Linked DNA regions of Homo sapiens: region 1 is linked to region 2. Evidence: promoter capture Hi-C in 16 types of primary human blood cells and fetal thymus (Javierre and others, 2016). All regions are on one chromosome and are shown on one strand. The core of a region is centred on a gene start or on the middle of the fragment in contact, and the rest is flanking DNA. Distances in the headings are between cores, read along the strand shown.

Region 1 (3,665 bases), core at 524-3,023, 130 kb after region 2:
CCTCTTACATATATAAATCATACTTGACTTTTTTCCTAATAAGTTTTTTTTTTTTTTTTTTTTGAGGTATACTTTCACTCTTGTTGCCCAGGCTGGAGTGCAATGGCGTGATCTTGGCTCACTGCAATCTCCACCTCCTCCCAGGTTCAAACGATTCTCCTGCCTCAGCCTCCCAAGTAGCTGGGATTACAGGCATGCGCCACCATGCCCAGCTAATTTTTTTTATTTAGTAGAGACAGGGTTTCACCATGTTGGTCAGGCTGGTCTCAAACTCCTGACCTCAGGTGATCCACCCACCTCGGCCTCCCAAAGTGCTGGGATTACACGATTGAGCCACCACTCCCGGCTGAGTATTCCTTTTATACAGAATAATTTTCAATATGAGAGATAGAAACCAGAGGACTTCACTCACATCTGTACAGAAATATTTACTTTAGATGACAAAAGAACTCAAGATCACAGTACACAGCAGTTATTTATTTAAATACTTGAAAAGGCTGATGATGGAAAAAATAGGTTTATCATGAGAGTTTATATTCATTAGATTTATTTTATCATTTAAAAAATTACTGCCTCTAGGTTATCCTAGCCTGATATAGAACACTTGGTGACACATGCAGTTACTGTAATATACTATAACAGACACAGCCATTATAGAATGATTTACACTTGGGATGAAATTCAACAGTAGTAAGGGTGACTCTTTATTTAAACTAAAAACATTGGTAATATACAAATTTTTTTTTTATTTCATTGAAAGGGCTATAAAATTCAACATACTGACAAGGAAGCAACATAATCACATAGATAACGCCTCTGCTAATTGCTTTTACCTAACTTCACCCTTAAAGGTGAGCTGCACACTCAGCTACACAAGTTTCTAGACTGTGCGATGGCTTCAAGGCTGGCCTACCACAACTGACTGAAAAAATGTCATGTTGGTAAGCTGACACTGACTTGTATGTTTTTAAAAATGGAGAGACAATGGCAAATTGTACCTTATGTCCTTATAGAACCCAAAGGATCATTCTGAGTAAATGTGAAATAAATAAAGTGATCCATGAGTAAATACAATCTCTGGGCTAACTTAAACCTAGAAGAGTGAGCCAAGTGAGCACTAACAATACCACTTAGAAATGTCTAGAAACATCATTTCTAGAACTCAGCTTGGGAGACCATATCTTGCCTGAATATGTACATATATTTACAAAATATTCCCTTTTGGCCTCTGGAATTTAGCCATTTTAGTTTGGCTGTTAGCTGTTTTCTTTCCATATGCTAGCCAATACTGCAGTTATAACTATCATTAAAATACTCTTATGCATGAATTACAAATATTAATAAAGTAACTCTGCATGTATAAATATCTCAATAATTCTAGCAGAACTTAAAGCATTCAGAATGTACATAAAAGTATTTGTTTTTGGTAGGGACAGTATTTCTTTTTATATCATCGCTGTTTCAATAATGCTTTGTACATAGCAAAGCCCAAAACTGCAAAAACAGTAGCACCAAAACTTGCTCGAAGCCAAAACGTGGAGCTCTTGAGGTCAGCTTGTGTCACGTGCCTGCAGTCAGAAAATATAATTATTATTTAAAACATGATTAGTATGAAAACCCTATACCAGTTATTTAGCAGTCTACTTTTAGGGAAGTATTAGCACACTTGTCAAGCTAACTGCATACAGTAATGCTTATCAAAAACATTGATCAATATAGCCATATATATAATTACTTAATCATTACTTTAAGAAAATGACACAATGTAGATACTAATAAAGACAATTAGCTACTTTGTGGGAGTAGACATCTAAATTTGTAAACTTTTTTTCACACAGGAAATAAAGAAGTTAGACAAATCAATCTAGCATTTTATAATACCGTTACGGTTGTTCAAAATGAAAATTAAGGCGGTGTTCCCACAATTTTGAGGATCATATTCATGGTTAAATAATGTGCAATCTCCTATCCCCAGGAACTGAAAGCTATTTTGTAAGCAGTTAAGTGACAAGTGACAATACTTTTCTAAGAGAAATGATTAAAGTCAACTTTGGAAACACTGAGCCTCATAAAAATTTACAAAAAACCCCCCAAAAAACCCGAAGGGGGAGGGGAAGATTTATCAGTTTGCATTAATTTGGTTACTGCTAATTAAAGAGAAAAAAACCAATCCCTGGTGTTAGACAGGCAGTGATAATGATACCAACTAACAGACATAACGTAATGTGATGGATTGAAAGGCAATGACATAAAATAAGCCATAGTATGCATGACAAGAACAGGGACAGCCTGTACCACAAACTGAGTTGTGAGCATGCTCAGTAAGTACCCTCAAGAGTCTCAAGTATGACAGCTTACCATGAAGAGGATAAAGCTCTAAAGAAAAGGTCAGAACATTTTATTTAAATGTCACTGAAGTCTTAGTTACTAAGTGAACACAATTGAGATGATGTAGAAAACTTAAAAAATTGGCCGGGTGCAGTGGCTCATGCCTGTAATCCCAGCACTTCGGAGGCTGAGGCGGGTGGATCACCTGAGGTCAGGAGTTCGAGACTGGCCTGGCCAACATGGTGAAACCCCGTCTCTACTAAAAATATAAAAAGTGGCCGGGCATGGTGGTGGGTGCCTGTAATCCCAGCTACTTGGGAGGCTGAGGCAGGAGAATTGCTTGAACCTAGAAGACGGAGTTTGCAGTGAGCCGACACGGTGCCACTGCACTCCAGCCTGGGTGACAGAGTGAGACTCTATCGCAAAAAAAAAAAAAAAGAAAGAAAAGAAAACTTACAAAATTAAGAGCTTAGAGAGACTGTCTAGTTTAGGTTATTTTATAACTAAGTTAAACAGATTTGAAGCAAAAGTCAGATATCATTAAAAGACCAAGGCACTGACATATGCAAAAGAGTTAAGAGCCAAGAATTCAAACTGCACAAAACTACTTTGCCTCAGTAATAGTCAAAGAGAACAGATTAGTTATCACAAAATAGTCTGTACATCCCTAGAAACAAAAGTCTACAACACAAGCCAGAGTGCTCCATGCTTAACACAACAAAGCAAGACACAACACTCCAATTCTCACCCTCACCAGTTTCTATTTAAAAAAAAAAAATCACTCCTCACATAATTATTTCTTACAAAGCAAAGTGATATCACAGGTTCATTCCAGCTTGCAAGTTAGTTTTTCCAACAGGCAGCATTTTATTAAAAAAAAAGTCAGAGAAGAAAATGCTTAGGTTTTTCAAGCTGGAAAAACTCCAACGAGGCCAACCCATTGGAAATGTTACCTGGCTTCAAGAAAAAGTGGACCATGAGATGACTCCATGAAGATGGAATCTTCTACAGAGCTGACAGCATGCACCTGGTGAGTAATACTGCCCTCATCGTCTGCTAACAGCATGGCACCCCACTCAGCTATCCGGGCTCTTAACCTTTTATACACATGCACACAGTTTGCAGTTCACAGCAGAGCTCACAAAAAAAGGGACTCAAAATAACATCTCTCAATTATGCATCCCACACATAAATTGAGTTGCCACCCTATATGATGGATCTCATGTTTTCTATATTTAAAATAAATGTATTCTATAGCAAATTGCCAAACTTAAAAAAAAAATCTATCTGTATGTACTCTGTTAACAAACACACACACACACCCACTCCAGACAAGG
Region 2 (3,225 bases), core at 313-2,812:
TAACATTACAATATGGGAACAGCTAAAACCAAAATGGTACTGTATAGAAACTCTGCTTTTTATATTTATTACACAATTAGGGACTACACTTGCCATGTTATTTCAGTATTTTCAATTTCCTAGAAGGCCAGCTCTCTTCACCACCCCAAAAAACACATCTCAATAATCAGCAATATACTTTGTCAAATTCCTGTGTTTAACAGAGATGTCGGTGAAACTTTTGTTATAAATATTTCAACATTTACAAATGCACACTGAGGACAGGAAAGAGTTCAGTTAAGAAATCCCTAAGGTTCTGTCAAGACAATTACTTCACTAGATATGAAGACGATAGCAATAACTGGATTAGGAATTTAGCAATATTTAGAATCTAAGAGTAACTATATGGTGAACAATAATCACATAATTTCGAATGAACAATCCATAAAGTTGTTTCCAATTCCGTATGAATTTATGTTGCCAAGCAATGTATTTAAATTCACAGATCAATAAAATCAATAAAGCAGAATTCTTACATCAATAAAACAGAATTCTTACCTCACTACTCAGATTTTCCTAAAATCACATTACAAAATTCGTAACCGTATTTAAGCTATTTTTAAAACTGTTACATAAACGCAGTACTGTAACAAGCCGCCTTTACGTACAAAACAGTAAATAAAATCAATTTTAATGTAAAGAATATTAACGCTTCCAGAAAAAGCATTAATACCACACTGTAGTAAGAGTTTTCCTAATAAGATAGGCACTTTTTAGTCCTACAAAGTTGGGTAACAGAAACTCCGCCCTGTGAGAACGCTTCCTGAAGATTAAGGCGCCTCTGGGTGAGACACGGAAGCTAGTTCTCCTCCCGCCCCGAAAAGAAAAAAAAAAAAAAAAAGGTTCGAAACCAGGGTTGACTAACTTGGTTCTTTACTAAACCGCCAATTCGAAAAAATAAACACAAAACACACATAAAGTAAATAAAAACAGAAAAAGTGGGTGACAGACTGTGAAGCTGTCCCCAACCCTCCATGAAAGTAATAAGCCTATCGCACTCGAAGAAAAGTCCCTTGTTGAATCGTCACCAAAACAACGGAAGGTGGCTGAATAGTCCCTAGGGGACACTGTCCCTGGCGGAGGGGTCCAGGCCGCCTCCCGGAGTCCAAAATTCGCACCGAACAAGATCCTCCTGAGTCACAGAGTCACACGACCCACAACTGCAAAAGCCTGTCGACCTCGGAACCCCATTTTCCTAGAAGCCTTCCCAAGTCCAATCCCAGCCACCAGGCCACCCACGCAGACGCCTAAATACAAACGCTCCACGCCGTAAGCCAAATCCAGGCCTCCTAGTCCCAGGCCCCAACAACCGGCACCCCAACGCGACCTCGACTTCAAACCGACAAAGGATACCAGCACCACGGCTTCAGCTGCTTCTTCTTCTTGCGACCCATAACTGTGTTCTACCGGCAAAGTAAAAGGGAGGAGAAAAGAAGCAGGAGAAACGAGGCCAAAAATCCCTCACTTTCCCAACCCAACGGCTACCACCACGTCCCACAGGAAGCAGACACAAAATGGCCGACGGCCTCGTTCCCCGCTCCGCCTCCCGTCAAGCACTGCGGTAGGAGGCGGAGCCAAGAAGGGGAGGGTCACATGACGCAGACCTCCGCCCTGAGTGGGTGGGACTAAGAGGCGCGAAGAGGTGGCAGCCATCTTGTCCGTTTCAGAGTTTTTCGCTTTCGCTGGCTGTGCTTGCGGAGCACTTTGGGTTTCATTTGTAAAGGAGCCGGAGCCCCAGGTACGCTAAGGGGCATGCGAATGGAAAACAGAAAACAAAAAAACGGAAAAGATTGCCAGTGCAGTTAGGGCCGATCACAAATAAAGATAGAGACAGCGCCCAATTTTAATTTTGTTTCAATTGAACAGTAAATGTTGATTATGTGCCTATTAAATGCTAAACCAAATAAGTTAGTCTCTGCTTTGTAACTCGCAGATTGGTGACAGACGAGTACACAATGCAGAGTTCTCAGTGCGGCGTTGAGGGAAATGCGAAGTGCTGTAGGACCTCAGAGAGCGGGAGTCCTAGGGCGGCTGTAGTGGTAGTGGTCGTTGGGTTGTCAAGTAAAGTTTTGTTTTTCTTTGTTTTGTTTTATTTTTCTGAGACCAAGTCTCGCTCTGTCTCCCAGGCTGGAGTGCAGCGGCGCGATCTCTGCTCACTGCAACCTCCGTCTCCCGGGTTCAAGCGATTCTCCTACCTCAGCCTCCCGAGTAGCTGGGACTGCAGGCCCGCGCCACCAAGCCCGGCTAATTTTTGTATTTTTAGTAGAATGGGGTTTCACCATGTTAGCGAGGCTGGTCTCGAACTCCTGGGCTCAAGTGATCCGCCCGCCTCGGCCTCCCAAAGTGCTGGATTGCAGGCTTGAGCCGCTGCGCCCGACATAAGAAAGGTTTCTTGAGGAGTCAACGGGAGCAAGCAAGGTGAAGGAAAGGGTATCTCCGTAAGGGAGCAAAGAGTTTAAGTCTTTGAGGCTGGGCACGTGAAAAACTAATCGTGGTAAGACTGGAGCTGATAGCCGGGCGCGGTTGCTCACGCCAGTAATCCCAACACTATGGGCCAAGGCCGAGGCAGGCGGATCACTTGAGGTCAGGAGTTCGAGACCAGCCTGGCCGACATGGTGAAACCCTGTCTCTACTAAAAATACAAAAATTAGCCAGGCGTAGTGGCAGGCGCCTGTAACCTCAGCTACTCGGGAGAATGAGGCAGGAGAATCACTTGGACCTGGGAGGTGAAGGTTGCAGTGAGCCGAGATCTCGCCATTGCATTCCAGCCTGGGTGACAGAGTGAGACTCCGTCTCAAAAAAAAAAAAAAAAGACTGGAGCTGTCAGTGAAGGTGCTGGTCACAAGAGATAATCCTAGGGAGGCTAGCAAAGGCGGGTTCTGGCGAACCCTAGAAGCATTCTCAGAAGTTGGATTTCAGCTGAAGTCTCTGAGAAGGCACAGTGGTTCTAAGAGGGCAACTGGAGGATCATGCAAGTGAGAGGTGGTTAAAAGTCCAGTGCTTGGGTTCATAGTCCACCAGTGCCACTGCTTAGCTGCCTGACTTTGGGCAAGGCAGTTAAACTTCATCTTGGCTGCACTTAAAACAGAGCTTAGCATATAATAATAACTAGTAATGTAAATTATGTTACTATTAAAAGCAAAAAATAATAGCAGACATCCATGGAGCACCTACCGTGTGCCAAGC

The links. Contacts are between HindIII fragments. The CHiCAGO score rates a contact against its expected background, and 5 or more counts as called.
Region 1: a contact is called between a fragment that was not itself captured here and the fragment with the promoter of ZNF207 in region 2, in 4 of 17 cell types (erythroblasts, M0 macrophages, monocytes and 1 more). The highest score is 6.9, in erythroblasts.

Annotation. Positions count from the first base shown.
Region 1 is chr17:32,222,519-32,226,183 of GRCh38, reverse strand. It overlaps RHOT1 (ras homolog family member T1), which reads right to left. Exons shown (of 20, transcript NM_001033566.3): 20 at 457-1,568. The coding sequence ends at 1,451. Among named protein-coding and RNA genes, the nearest start is that of RHBDL3, 41 kb to the left of the region's middle. The HindIII fragment of the contact is 6,005 bases long and covers 1-3,665 here.
Region 2 is chr17:32,348,494-32,351,718 of GRCh38, reverse strand. ZNF207 (zinc finger protein 207) reads right to left here and starts at 1,562. Exons shown (of 12, transcript NM_001098507.2): 1 at 1,393-1,562. The coding sequence starts at 1,433. It overlaps MIR632 (microRNA 632), which reads right to left and starts at 1,610; the gene lies at 1,517-1,610. It also overlaps a transcript of C17orf75 not described here. RefSeq lists enhancers at 1,473-1,822, 1,993-2,112. The HindIII fragment of the contact is 13,651 bases long and covers 1-3,225 here.